Regions from separate parts of the Homo sapiens genome. Here regions 2 and 3 are each linked to region 1. The links are contacts of gene promoters, found by promoter capture Hi-C in blood cells and fetal thymus (Javierre and others, 2016). All regions are on one chromosome and are shown on one strand. Each heading gives the region's core, a stretch centred on a gene start or on the middle of the fragment in contact. The rest is flanking DNA. Distances are from core to core; before and after follow the strand shown.

What was found. The method cuts DNA at HindIII sites, captures the fragments that hold promoters and counts their contacts. A CHiCAGO score of 5 or more calls a contact.
Region 2: a fragment that was not itself captured here is called in contact with the fragment with the promoter of ZDHHC9 in region 1 in 5 of 17 cell types (M0 macrophages, M2 macrophages, M1 macrophages and 2 more); the score reaches 6.4 in M0 macrophages.
Region 3: a fragment that was not itself captured here is called in contact with the fragment with the promoter of ZDHHC9 in region 1 in 2 of 17 cell types (non-activated CD4 T cells and neutrophils); the score reaches 5.6 in non-activated CD4 T cells.

What each region holds. Positions count from the first base shown.
Region 1 is chrX:129,842,063-129,846,532 of GRCh38, reverse strand. ZDHHC9 (zDHHC palmitoyltransferase 9) reads left to right here and starts at 2,647. Exons shown (of 11, transcript NM_016032.4): 1 at 2,647-2,837; 2 at 3,207-3,274; 3 at 4,453-4,470. The HindIII fragment of the contact is 4,624 bases long and covers 1,865-4,470 here.
Region 2 is chrX:129,877,232-129,881,963 of GRCh38, reverse strand. It overlaps the pseudogene SALL4P2. Among named protein-coding and RNA genes, the nearest start is that of UTP14A, 27 kb to the left of the region's middle. The HindIII fragment of the contact is 3,137 bases long and covers 1,687-4,732 here.
Region 3 is chrX:129,787,989-129,792,890 of GRCh38, reverse strand. It overlaps SASH3 (SAM and SH3 domain containing 3), which reads right to left. Exons shown (of 8, transcript NM_018990.4): 2 at 4,821-4,902; 3 at 4,314-4,460; 4 at 1,810-1,951; 5 at 415-563; 6 at 55-264. Among named protein-coding and RNA genes, the nearest start is that of SASH3, 10 kb to the right of the region's middle. The HindIII fragment of the contact is 1,276 bases long and covers 701-1,976 here.

The DNA of each region.
Region 1 (4,470 bases), core at 1,398-3,897:
ATTGCAACCTCCGCCTCCCAGATTCAAGTGATTCTCATGCTCAGCCTCCTGAGTAGCTGGGATTACAGGCACCTGCCACCATGCCTGGCTAGAGATAGGGTTTCACCATGTTGGCCAGGCTGGTCTCAAACTCCTGTCCTCAAGTGATCTGCCTGCCTTGGCCTCCCATAGTGCTGGGATTACAGACGTGAGCCACTGTGCCCGGCCTATAACCTCTTTTCAAAAGAGCCAACACTGACTTGGATGTAAAAAGTGGGAAGTCTGTTGAAAAGAGAAGAGAAAAGAATAGGAAAAAACAGTCTCAGTTTATAGTCACAATTTAGTTGTGTGTGTGTATTAAGACTTTAAGGATTATATAAAATGATGTAACTACATAGGAGGAAGTACTATGGGATGTTTGTCCACATAAATTTTCCTTATTTTTCTTTGAGTGTTGAGAATAAATAATAACAGATTGTAATAAAACAAGCCTGACTCACATAGCCACTTAGTCCGAGAGGGAATGTGACCCAGAGCAGGGAGGGACAGAGCTCAGGAATGTGTCACCATGACACATCGATTCCAGGACTCCTCAGGCTTCACCTGCACCTGAGCTATGGACAAAATATGTTTGAGTGCTACAGAGGCTTATTTTTCACTGCTCCATAGTCAGAAGGATGGCAGCTGGGGTGACCATACTATTCCTAAGGGCATCTGATATACATAGGCTTGGAAATCCACAGGGCTGATGAGGTTTAGGGAAGTTCTTCTCCCTCCCATACCAAGTGTGTGCAATACCAGCACCCTCCAGAATTCAAAGCGGGAGAATTGGAGGCAATGATACTGATCGTACACTTCATGAGGAATAAACTGTTGATCATAATCAGCATGAGTGCTAAGGAACAATGGAAGCTTTATAAAGACAAACCTTCCTTTGCAAGTTAATTACAACACATCTCAGAATTACCTAGTGTTTTTTAAATCCTTTAAGAATTTTGAAGGGTGCCATGAAAGTGTCAAATGTAATTATTATGTAGCTTTTTGTTTCATATTGTGTGGGACACATATACTGTAAAGGAAAAATAGTTCTTGACCATGTATGTGGTCCTTCAACTAACATACAACTGCCTTAGGAAGAGCTTTGGCAGTCTCTTCTGTACTAATTCCAAATACCAAATCTCTAAAACTTTGAAATTTTTATCACGCTTAGGAAAACCTAGGCTGGTAATGTAGGCATTCTCCTCCAATCTTCAACCTTTTCTCTTATCTCCTCTTACACTTGGAAAGGAGATGCCACCTTCAACCTTTTCTCATATTTCCTCTTATATTTGGAAGGCAGGAGCCATACTGGTGAAAACAGACCTAGTGTCTTTTAAAGTCACCCTATAGTATAATACTGTGGTTCTCAATTGTTTCCCCCCTTCAATCTCAAACTTTTTTTTTTTTTTTTTTAAGACAGGGTCTCTCTCTGTCGCCCAGGCTGGAGTGCAGTGGCATGATCTTGGCTCACTGCAACCTTCACCTCCTGGGTTCAAGTGATCCTCCTGCCTCAGCCTCCCTGGTAGCTGGGACTACAGGCGAGTCCCACCGCTCCCCGCTAACTTTTGTCTTTCTAGTAGAGACGGGTTTTGCCATGTTGGCCAGGCTGGTCTTGAACTCCTGACCTCAGGTGATCCACCTGCCTCGGCCTCCCAAAGTGCTGGGATTACAGGCGTGAGCCACCGCGCCCAGCCCAATCTCAAACTTTTAATGCATGCAACTCACTCGGATCAGTAGCAGTGGCTCATGGTGGCAGTAATGCAGAGCTGGGTGGCAGAAGGAAAAAATCAATCTGGTTGGTGGGTGGGAATTCTGCCTTGGATTCTCCCCTTAATCATCATAAGCTTTCCAAACCGAATAAAAATTTACAACCTTTTTGGCAATCTTTACTTCATTACCTACCTGGAAGAATTTATGTCCTCAGTGGAGTTTCTTTAACTCCATTAATGTCAATTAGTTGTTTTAGGTGCTGCAAAATGATAATACGTTCTTGGGGACATTTATCCTTTACAACATGCTTTTTATGCTTGTTTGTGTGTTTTGATTTGAAAGACTTAGAGATGCAGGCTAGGGTGACTGGGACAGATATGGGGTCCCTGGCTACTGAATGAGACTTGGGAGGCAGATGACTTGTTTTTATGCCGATAAAGAGTAAAATCTCAAGTTGCGGTTGATTTTAAAATGCAAGCAGGGCTGGAGAGGCCCATGGCAGACCTAGTTTGGGGTGAGCACCCGGATCTGTGAGCTAGTGTTGCTTCAGCATCTCACTGTGTGTGTGTGTGCGCGCGCGTGTGTGTGTGTGCGCGCGCGCGCGCGTGTGTGTAGGCTGGTTCCACCCTTTGCTGTCCCATCGGCACTACCCTTAACCTCCGTCTCTGCGTAACTATATTAATAGAAGGCAACACTTCACATACTGGCGCTCAGACCCCAAAGAGAGGCTGGCAGTGGCTTGGCAGGTGGGCATGCAGCAGGGAGATGGGTGGAGGAGTGGGCGGAGGCATCGTCGAGTGGCGTTAGGCAAAACCAATGGCAGTTCGGGATAGGGGCGGCCGGGGCGGAGGCGCCGAGGCCGATCGGCCAATAGAGGGCGAGCAACTACTGGAGCGACCTGGTGACGTGAGGAGCGTTCCATTTGGCCAGTGGTGGGCGGTTGCCACAGCTGGTTTAGGGCCCCGACCACTGGGGCCCCTTGTCAGGAGGAGACAGCCTCCCGGCCCGGGGAGGACAAGTCGCTGCCACCTTTGGCTGCCGACGTGATTCCCTGGGACGGTCCGTTTCCTGCCGTCAGCTGCCGGCCGAGTTGGGTCTCCGTGGTTCAGGTAACGAGGGGTGGGGGCGGGGGTCTCCTGGGCTCGGCTGCAGGGTGGGCTGCCTCCCCTTCCGCGGCGCCTGGAGGCGGGGACGTCGGCACCGCCCTTCTCAACTCGGCAGCCGCCGAGCCCCTGGCCCGGGGTGACTACACGTGGCGGGGCGTGTGTGAGTGTGTACGAGCGTGTGGCTGCGTGTGCGTGTGGATGTGGCGCGCGTCCCAACCTGCCTGGGGCGGTGGTCCGCGGCGTGGCGGAGTCAGGGCGGGCCTCGAGAGGCCGCGCCCGCGGCTCGGCCCCGGACTCCGGCCTCCGGCCTCCGGCCCCCCGCTGGGGAGCCGGTCGCTGCTTCCCGACGGATTTTGATCTTTGTTCTTCCAGGCCGGCTCCCCCTTCCTGGTCTCCCTTCTCCCGCTGGGCCGGTTTATCGGGAGGAGATTGTCTTCCAGGTTAGTTTTACACAAAGGACGGGTTCTCTGCACCTCTGGGCCCCCCTCCCCTTCCCCGAACCTTCTACCTTCTCGTTTCCCTGCTCCGCTCCTAGGCTGTTTTTGGACCTTTGCCCTCTCCAGCCCGCGAGTTGGCTGTTTCTCCCTCCGTCCGTCGGGCTGCAGGCTTCCGCCTCAGTCCTGCCAGCGTGGGGCATGTGGTGTCGGTAAATAGAGGCCACAACACCACACCTGAGCGGAGGAGAAGGGTAGCAGAGGCTGAGAAACTCTGGGCCTGGGAATTCAGGATGCTGAGTAGAGATGGTACTTAGGACATGTCCCAGAAAGCGCCCTTGTGACTTTTCTTAGCTGCTGCCATTCCCCACCCCCCAACCAGCCATCAGCAGTCACCAACCATTCCAGAATCTCTCCTGCTTAAGTCAGCCTTTCACCTACAGGTCTCTGATGTGGTTTCATTAAGATTCTCACAAATGTTAGGCTAGACCAGCCAGATTGTTTCATTTCCCGGACTCAGGAAGTTGCAGAGGGTTTGATGAGGGGAAATCTGTTTTGTGTAAATACAATGCACGTATGTGCACAGAGCGTCCAGAACCTCCTGGCCCTGCCAGAGGGTGACTTGTTCCCTGCTGTGATTCATATTCGAGTGGCTAATTGAAGAAAGAAGGTGAAGTGGAGGAAGGGAGGGAGGTTTTATAAGGACAGAAACTCTACTATTATTTTTAGAGTCCTTTTAATGATGTTGAAAGAACACTGTGGCATAGTGGAACATGCCCTTGACTGGAAGTTAGCAGTATCAGCATTGCTGCTGTGTGGTCCTGGATAAGTTATTTCCTCTCTCTGGTCCTCAGTTTACTCATTTACAAAACAAAGTATTAATAATTGGCACGATCACCTATAAAATCCTCTCTAGTTCCAAGGTTCTGTGATGATCAGATCATCAGCATTAGATTGGAAGCATAGAGGCTTATTTAAGAAGAAATACTAGCCCCTTTCCTTTTTTGAGAACCTTTTATCATACCTTCTTTTAGAGAACAAACACGAATTGGAAATAAACTTTTCCCACTTCCCCGTCCCCACCCCTTCAGTCAGTTTTCAACTTTCTGTCTCTGGGAAAGGAGGGTTGAACTGTATTTTCTTATTATTGCCTCATTTTTTTTTCTTTTTCTGCTTTTTCTTAGGGCTAGCAATTGGACTTT
Region 2 (4,732 bases), core at 2,006-4,505, 35 kb before region 1:
CTGCCTCAGCCACAGAAGTAGCTGGAACTAAAGGCATGCGCCACCACGCATGGTTAATTTTTTTGTATTTTTTTTTTTGTAGAGACAGCGTTTTGCTATGTTGCCCAGCCTGGTCTCAAACTCCTGAGCTCAAGCGATCTGCCTTGGTTTCCCAAAGTGCTGGGATTACAGGCATAAGCCACCATGCCACCACACCCAGTCTATCCCTTACTTTTGAGTGTAGTACTTATTTCATTTACATTTACTATAATACTGATTGTAATATAAGTAATATAATTATTATTTTGGAGAGAAAAACATGCAAAATTGTTTTCCCAACAGACAAGACAGCATCAGCAGGTACAACTACAGGGGATTCTCCATAGATCGTACACTCACAAAGCATCATTAGTTCAACAGTGGAAAAACCACTGCTGTGTTCTCTGTAGCATATCCACTTAGCGTAAAGAGGTACTATTATTGTGTTCACTTACAATTCCAGAAGGAAAGGCACAACTGGACAAAAAACATTTTGTATCCTAAAGTCAGGTGCAGTAACTAAGAGACAAAACTTTGGGTAACAGTCTTGATGCACATTTCAGTAAGGGCTTTTTACTTAGAGGGGAATGATTTCTCCACCCACAAGTTAGGTTTAATTGTTAGAGCAACATTTCATTGTTTGCTCAGTATTATTACATATACAAAAGGGGATTTGAAAAAAGGAATCACGAAAACATCTTACATGTCCAGCTGTTCCCACCAATACATCAACTCTTATGAAGCAGGAGAATAGGGTCTGGAGGCAGGGAACCCAAGTCCGGTTCATGCTGACTTCCTAGAACTAAATTGAAAGGGAAACCCCAACTTTCCACACCTAAATAACAAAAGGACCAGAGACTATTCCCTCTGCAAACCTCCACCTTTTCTGCCTGGCAGATGGGAAATTGAAAGTACCTCTGACCGGTTGCAAAAACCAATCACAGGTTTGCATAAGAGTGTAATTTTGTAACTTCGAAATTGGTTGCAGACAGCAACAAATCAGAGTGATTGTGGGCCACCACTTCATTTACATGAGGTGAACACCAAGTGGCCAATGGGAATGGGAAACCTCTAGGGGGTATTTGGACCCAAGAAGATTCTGTATCTGGGCCCTTGAGCCGCTGCTCAGGTCCGCTCCCACACTGTGGAGTATACTTCCATTTTCAATAAATCTGCTTTTGTTGCTTCATTCTTTCCTTGCTTTGTCTGTTTTGTCCAATACGACAAGAACCTGGACACCCTCCACCAGTAACACTTAGGTTTAAGACAGCAGCCAGGCATGGTGGCTTACACCTGTAAACCCAGCACTTTGGGAGGACAAGGCCAGTGGATCACCTGAGGTCAGGAGTTTGAAACCAGCCTGGCCAACATAGAGAAACCCCATCTGTACTAAAAATACAAAAAATTAGCCGGGCATGGTGGCACATGCCTGTAGTCTCAGCTACTTGGGAGGCTGAGGCAGGAGAATCCCTTGAACCTGGGAAGCGGAGGTTGCAGTGAGCTGAGATTGTGCCACTGTACTCCAGCCTGGGTGACAGAGTGAGACTCCGTCTCAAAAACAAACAAACAAACAAACAAAAAGACAGGGCCTGGGAATACTTCAGTGGTCATAAAATAGGAAAATAGACACTATGGCTACAAAAAAAGTGAAATATTTAAACTAAAGCTTTCATACCCAGGATTTGCCTGTTCCAACTTTGTAGCCTTCATGCAATACTCAGGGCAAAAAATCTGCATAATTACTTGGCATAAGTTGCACCAACTATATTTTTTAAAAATTAGTATGTGACCCTGTGAAAGGAAACACTCCTTCCCATGAGTTTCTCCTCTGGAATGAAAATCCAGTTCTTCAACAGAGTGGGCACTGGTGAACTAAATTAAGTCACCTGAGATTCCTTGCTCAGTGGCCCACCTCTTCTGGTGTTCAGGAAGGCAAAGGGAAGTGTGTGGAATACATTTGAACTCTTGTGGCTGCAACTGAGCTGTTTTTTAAATAAGCAGACATTGACTCCCTAACAACTAACATAAGTCCATTTGAGGACATCCTATTTAAAGTTCTAAAGTTAAAGGAGTCCAGACACAGTGGCTCACCCCTGTAATCCAGCACTTTGGGAGGCTGAGGTGGGGCAAATCACTTGAGTCCAGGAGTTTGAGACCAGCCTGGCCAACATGGTGAAACTGAAACCCCGTCTCTACTAAAAATACAAAAATTAGCTGGGTGTGGTGGTGGGTACCTGTAATCCCAGCTACTTGGGAGGCTGAGGCAGGAGAATCCCTTGACCCCCAGAGGTGGAAGTTGCAGTGAGCCGAGATTGCGCCCTTGCACTCCAGCCTCCTGGGTGACAGCGAGACTCCATCTAGAAAACAAAAAAAGTTGGAGGAATTAGGCCAGGTGCGGTGGCTCACGCCTGTAATCCCAGCACTTTGGGAGGCCGAGGCAGGTGGATCACGAGGTCAGGAGATCGAGACCATCTTGGCTAACACGGTGAAACCCCCTCTCTACTAAAAAAATACAAAAAAATTAGCCGGGCGCCTGTGGTCCCAGCTACTGGGGAGGCTGAGGCAGGAGAATGGCGTGAACCTGGGAGGCGGAGCTTGCAGTGAGCTGAGATAGCGCCACTGCACTCCCGCCTGGGTGAAAAGAGCGAGACTCCGTCTTAAAAAAAAAAAAATGTTGGAGGAATTTGTAATTCTATAATCTTTTTTTTTGCTTTATTTTTGAAAGTACTTTCAAAAAACAAAAGATGGGTACAGGGTTAGGAGACATACAAAACAGGTTCCTAAATAGATGATAACCTTGTCCATTTACTTGCAGACAGTTATCATGGAAGTATACAGTACTCCTCCTCACCCCATTAATCTAAGTAGTTGTCTTTTCCACTGTGGTTCAATAAGTTCAAACTGTTCCACCTTGAAATAGGCGACAGTCTTGGGAAGTAGTTACTGTAGGCTGTACAGAATTTCTATGTATATAGTTTGTTGGAAGTAACAAAGCTACTTTCAAGACTTGCTTCTTTCCAAAATTAAAAAATAATTATAGTCTGTATTTGTTTTGGTATAGATATTTTCTTTTTTTGATTTTTTTGTTTTTATGTTTTGCAAAGCAGCATAACAATTGTGATTGTAGAACTGCCTGAGATTGCCATCTGTAAACATCATTTGCATATCAGTAAGAATAAGGAAAACGGGAGGAGGAGATGGGTTTTTTTTTTAAAAAAAAGAAAACAAATAATCCCATTAAAAAGTGGGCAAAGGACATGAATAGACATTTCTCAAAAGAAGACAAGTGGCCAACGGACATGAAAAAATGCTCAACATCGCTAATCATCAGAGATGTGCAAATTAAAACCACAATGATAAACCATCTTACACTAGTCAGATGGCTATTATTAAAAAGAGAAAAACTAACAGATGTTAGTGAGGATGGGGAGAAAAGGGAATGAACTCTTATACACTGTTGGTGGGAATGTAAATTAGTGTAACCTCTATGGAAAACTGTATGGAGATTTCTCAAAGAACGAAAAATGCAACTACTTTCCATCCAGCAATCCCACTACCGGGTATCTACCCAAAGAAAAATAAATCATTATATCAAAAAGACACCTGCAATAGTATGTTTATCACAGCACTATTCACAATAGCGAAGATAAGGAATCAACCTAAGTGTCCATCAACGGAGGATTAGATAAAGAAACTGTGGTATGTATACATCATGGAATACTATGCAGCCATAAAAAAATGCAATCATGTCTTTTGCAGCAACATGGATGGAACTGGAGGCCATTAACTTTGGTGAAACAAGCCAGGCACAGAAAGACAAATATCACATGTTCTCACTTATAAGTGGGAGCTAAATAAAGTGTACACACGGAGGTAGTGTGTGGAATGATAGACAACAGAGACTTGGAAGGGTAAGGCAAGGGGTGGATAATGAGTGATTACTTAAGGGGTACATTGTAGGTTATTTGGGTGATCAATACCCTAAAAGCCCTGACTTCACCACTACACAATCTATGCAGGTAACAAAATTACACTTGCACCCCATAAATTTATACAAATAAAAAATAATAAAAGAATAAAAAGCACAGTCTAGACTAGGGGTGTCCAATCTTTTGGCTTCCCTGGGCCACCTTGGAAGAAGAATTGTCTTGGGCCACACATAAAATACACGAATACTAACAATAGCCGATGAGCTTAAAAAAAAAATCACAAAAAAATCTCAGAATGTTTTAAGAAACTTCACGAATTTGTGTTGGGCCACATTCAAAGCCGCCCTGGGCTGCATGTGGCCTGCGGGCTGAGGGTTGAACAAGCATGGTCTAGACATTTCACTCTGTCTACATTTCTTCTTCCAGGCAAGTTCCCCTTTAGCTTAGCTGACCACAATCTTGTTTTCTTCCAGGAAGTGAGGGAACCAATGTGTGGGAACAGTCTCAGTAGCACCTGGTTTTTCCACATTGGCACTGATACCTGACTGGGAGCCATCCATCTTGGACTCAGCAGTGTTATTCACAGCAGAGTTGGCCCCCACAGAAACTGGGAGGGTGGGAACACCACCACTCTGGGTCATAGAGATCTCGCTAGTCTTCATGGCAAGACCACTGTTGAGCATGTTGGTATATTGGTTCCACCACCTTCACTGAAGGGGCCAGGATTTCCAGTAAACATTTCTGAGATTCTTTCCATTCATACCTAATTAAGCCATAGTGTTCTC
Region 3 (4,902 bases), core at 89-2,588, 52 kb after region 1:
CTGGGGCAGTTGTGCCTCCCTGATACTAGATACTAGTGAGGACCAAGCTCAAACCTCCAGGCCGATGCGCTCCAGCAGCTCATGCAGGGTCTTAGGCTTGGGCCTCTTGCCCTTGCTCTGTCGGCGGCTGGGGCGGGCATGCCCCACGGCCTCCTCGGGCAGCACATCCACATAGATGAATTTGAAAGAGCCCACCTTGCCATTGAGTAGGCCCAGCCACGTGCCCACAGGTGGCTTTTCAATGATCTGGATCACATCTCCTTTCTGTTGGGGGAGAGGAGAGGAGAAGGGAGCAAGGGAGAGAGGATATGGGGGGCCTTGGCCTCCACTGACACTGTCATAGCCTGGTTCAGTCCAGCTTCCTTTTTGGGCACAGCCTGCCAGGCTCCAGAGAAGCCCGGATGCTGATCTTACCTGCAGTTTCAGCGAGTCGTGGTCATAGGGGCTGGGAGTGAAGTCGGTGTGGACTCGTGCCCGGCCACAGAAAGGCCCTGTGTACTGGGGGGCAGGTGGTTCCTCCCCGAAGCTGCCAGAACCTGGGCTGGGGCTGCAGAGCTCACTGCCTGCAGGAGATGGGGCAGGGAGGAGGCTCACCTTTGTCCTAGAACAGCTGAGACAGTGCCTAGCAGGTGCCTTCCAGGGGACCTGCCTAGAAATCCCAAGGGTATACACCGGGAAGGCAGCTGGGCTCTGGCAAGCTTTACACTGCAGAAGGGATTCTGAACCACCCCCTTGGCTACCGACCAGGAGCACGGCTTCACCTCTGGGCCCTTGGACATGAAAAGAGTTGGCAATGGGAGGAGAAATGGCTCACTGACCAAAGAATGGGCAAATTAGGAGGGCCTCTAGAGAACAACTGGGCCAACACTCCAATGAACAGATGCGGAAATCTGAGGTCACACAGACCAAGTGAACTGCTCAAGGCTTCTCATTTTATAACTGGCAGCACTGAGTCAGTCCATTAGACTCCATGTTCCCTGATACCCACTCCAACGCTCCCTCCACCCAGGAAGCTATGCCCTGCATTCATATTTGACTTTCCCTGCTTAACTCAATGTGTAGTTACAATGTCACATAGAAACTCAGTTGGGCTCCTTCTCCCTGGGAAGTACAGAGTAGTGGGCATTTTGAATGATTTTCAGTCGGGGGCAGGGAAGTGTCTGTGGAGGCAGAGAAAGCAGGAAACTTGGAGTGGACTTGAGGGGCAAGAAAGGCGGTGCTGAATGGGGCTGCAGAACCCAAAGCCCCTGCCTGGACGAGTTCCCTGCTGGCACCTCTTGTCCTGTCCCATGGACTTCTAGAAGATGCCAGGTGATGCCCTGAGCCCAGCAACTATGGTCTAGGGTCAAGAGGCTGACTCTTCACAGCTGGAGACCTCATACGCCCACCCCCGACTGGGGCATCAGAGGCCCAGGGATCTGTAGCCTCTAGCTCCCCTTGGAAAGGTGGGGACGGGCTGGTCCAAGAGGGTGACTGAGACTCTTCCTCTGCCCGTGGGCCTCTCCGGGGCCTGAGGATAGCAAGTGGAAGTTCCTCTACGGTACATCTGAGTTCAAGACTGGGTCATCTTGGGCAAGTCACTTAACCTCCCTAAGACCCTGTTTCCACATCAATAAAGCAAGGATAACAGTACTGGCCCCATGAGGTTGTTGAGAAGATTTAATGTGAAGAGGACTGAGAATGTTCCCAGCAGGCAAAGAGTAAGCATTCATTTCTCTTACCCCCCGCCCAGACAGTGTGCCACCAGCACGGCTGTAACCCAGTCCTTTCCTCCAGATTCGGCAGGTGTCCCCCGCATCCCCTACTCACCTGTTGATGCCTGGCGGCTGAGCACCGGAAGTTCATGCTCCTCTTGCTCAGAAAAGGCCAGCGCCATCTTCTCAGGGCCAGGGCTGTCCAGGCTGTAGTCTGGAGATGTCGGGGAGGCAGAGCCCTCCTCCAGAGTGTCTGCCTGCAGGGAGGGTAGGCGGGAAGCTTTAAGGAGCCTTGCTGGGGTGTGCATGAAGCTGAAGAAATGGGCCTGGGCTTAGTGAAGAGCTAGGGGCTGGCTCAAACCCCAACTCTACCACTTATAGGCTGAATGGCACTCTCTGAGCCCTAGTTTCTTCCCCTTTTGTAAAAATGAGAGTGACAGTCCTTGCCCTGGTTACCTCACAGAAACAGGTTCAACCAGGGCACCATGTGGATGTGCTTTTGTCAGCCTCAAGTGCCGATGTACATACAGAAAAGACCACGGTGGCACAACCTGGACTCAACCATTGCTACCGCACAACTGGGCAGACAATGTCGCTAGAGAGGAAACTACTTTTGCCTGTGTTTCTGTGTGCCAGGCCTGCCTGCCATTTCACTGAATCCTTACAGTGACACTTGAAGGTAAGTGGTATTGTTGGCCTGAGTTTACAAATGAGGAGTAAGGCCCAAGGGTTACTTACTCCTCATCTGTAAACTCAGGCCAAGGGAATTCAGGTTCAAGTCCCAAGGCAACCCACAACCAAGCCAGACTCCAGAGCTCCCCCTACCTCACCACACCTCAGTGAGGTGATAACTGTTTAACAGCTGGCCCTGATGAGTTGCCAATTCCTGTGTTGTAAACACTCCCCTCCACGGCCAATGTCAAGCTACCATTTTGACATCACTGGACGTGTTGTCTGAAATGAGGGTGAGGCTATTGCCACCATGAAGATGCTATGGATGCACGTAACCTCAGCAGCATTGATAAGAGTAAAAGGTAGTACAAGAATTAGGAAGTGATGAGTTTTGAAGATTTACTGTATTACCTTTGTTCGTTTTTACAAAATTTTATTTTTTTAAATTTATTTATTTAGAGACAGAGTCTCCCTATGTTGCCCAGGCTGGACTCTTACTGGGCTCAAGCAATCATCTTGCCTCGTCCTCCTGAGTAGCTGGGATTATAGGTGTACACCACCATGCCCAGTTTACCTTTTTAAAAAAATATAATTAACTGAATTGTAAGTTTCTTTAATTTGATTTTTAATAATGGTTGTGTTTAACAACTGGCTTGCACAATTTTTGACAGTTTGACCAACTGCTCTTGTGAGCTGGTATAAGCCCAGTACGAGCCAACTCCAGCACACCACTGCCTCAGTGGCTCCTTTTAGAGCCATGGCAACCCAAACCCACTGTGTGATTTAAGCTTCTTGGGTCATGCCTGCCCCACAGCTGCCTGTGCCAACTTTCCTCCCTGGGCTGAAGCCAGCCTTCTCTGTTTTCTCTCTTTTTTTTTCTTTTTTTTGAGACGGAGTTTTGCTCTTGTCACCCAGACCAGAGTGCAGTGGTGTGATCTTGGCTCACTGAAACCTCCACCTCCCGGGTTCAAGCAATTCTCCTGCCTTAGCCTCCCGAGTATCTGGGATTACAGGCACCTGCCACCACGCCTGGCTAATTTGTTTTGGTATTTTTAGTAGAGACGGGATTTTGCCATGTTGGCCAGGCTGGTCTCGAACTCCTGACCTCAGGTGATCCACCTGCCTTGGCCTCTCAAAGTGCTGGGATTACAGGTGTGAGCCACTGTGCCCAATCTGTTTTCTCTCATAGGGATTCTATGAGAGAAAATAGGCCTTCCCAATCCCGGGGAAGTTCCAAAGCAAAGCTTTGAGGTGGATGGATTGCCTCAGGCCATTTCATCTTTCTCAAGCTGCCCCTGTCCCAGGCCCGCCTCCTCAAGAAGCATCCCTTGCCCAGACTTTTCTTTTTTTTTTTTTTCTCTTTCTTTCTTTCTTTCTTTCTTTCTTTCTTTCTTTCTTTCTTTCTTTCTTTCTTTTTTTTTTTGAGACAGAGTCTTGCTCTGTTGCCCAGGCTGGAGTGCAGTGGCACGATCTTGGCACACTGTAACCTCTGTCTCCTAAGTTCAAGCAATTCTCCTGCCTCAGTCTCTGAGTAGCTGGAATTACAGGCATGTGCCACCACGCCTGGCTAATTTTTGTATTTTTAGTAGAGATGGGGTTTTGCCATGTTGGCCAGGCTGGTCTCAAACTCCTGACCTCAAGTGATCGGCCCCAGTCTCCCAAAGTGCTGGGATTATAGGCAGGAGCCACCATGTCCAGCCCTGTTGCCCAGACTTTCATCCCTTCTCAAACTCCACCCCTTCCCCCGCCAGCCTCCTGCCCCGTCAAGATTGCCTGGCTGCCTGTCCGTGGCTGCAAGTGAGTTTCCCCTCCCATGTGACCTTCCTTCTTGCATCAAATAGGGCCTTCCGGCCTGAGTAGTGGCTATTGAGGTGGTCATGCTCACATTCTGCCAGAGCGGTCCCCAGGCCCCCTGGACACCCCATCCCCTATATCTGCAGGCCTCACCATCTCTTCTGACAGGGCCTTCACCATCATCTTGCCCATCTTCCTGTTCATGGTTCGGGAAATCACTGCCCTCCACTTCTTCCCCAGCTTTTTGCCACTCTTCCCAGCATCTTCTGGGGTGGGGACACCTGAGTCATCTTCTGGAATCTGTGACAACAAAAGAGGCGATCCAGGGACCCTGGTGGTCCTGCCTAGGTCCGGGACTTGAGGCAAAAGAGGCCTTGGGGTCACAGCAGAAGCTGGAGGGGGTGGAACTGAGAGGCCCCCATCCCCTCCCCTCTTAACCCCAGCCATGTCCTTAGCCCTATAAATTTATAAATAGTTTGCTATTTAATGTATAATTGAAAGGAATGCAGGGGAGTGCTTGGTGTGGGGAGAGGTGGACCCTCTGTGTTAAAGGGGGCTTCGCCCCAACAATTCTATCTCCTCTTCACCCTCTTCCCTCCCACCCCCACCCCCCTGCCCAGGGCCTGCAGCCAGATCCCACAAGGATGCCCTGAAACTCACGTTATCATCCAGATTAAACTCCTTCTCGCTCACCACGGGGGAGCTGGGTTTGGATTTGGCAAAATCCTTGAAGCTGCTGGAG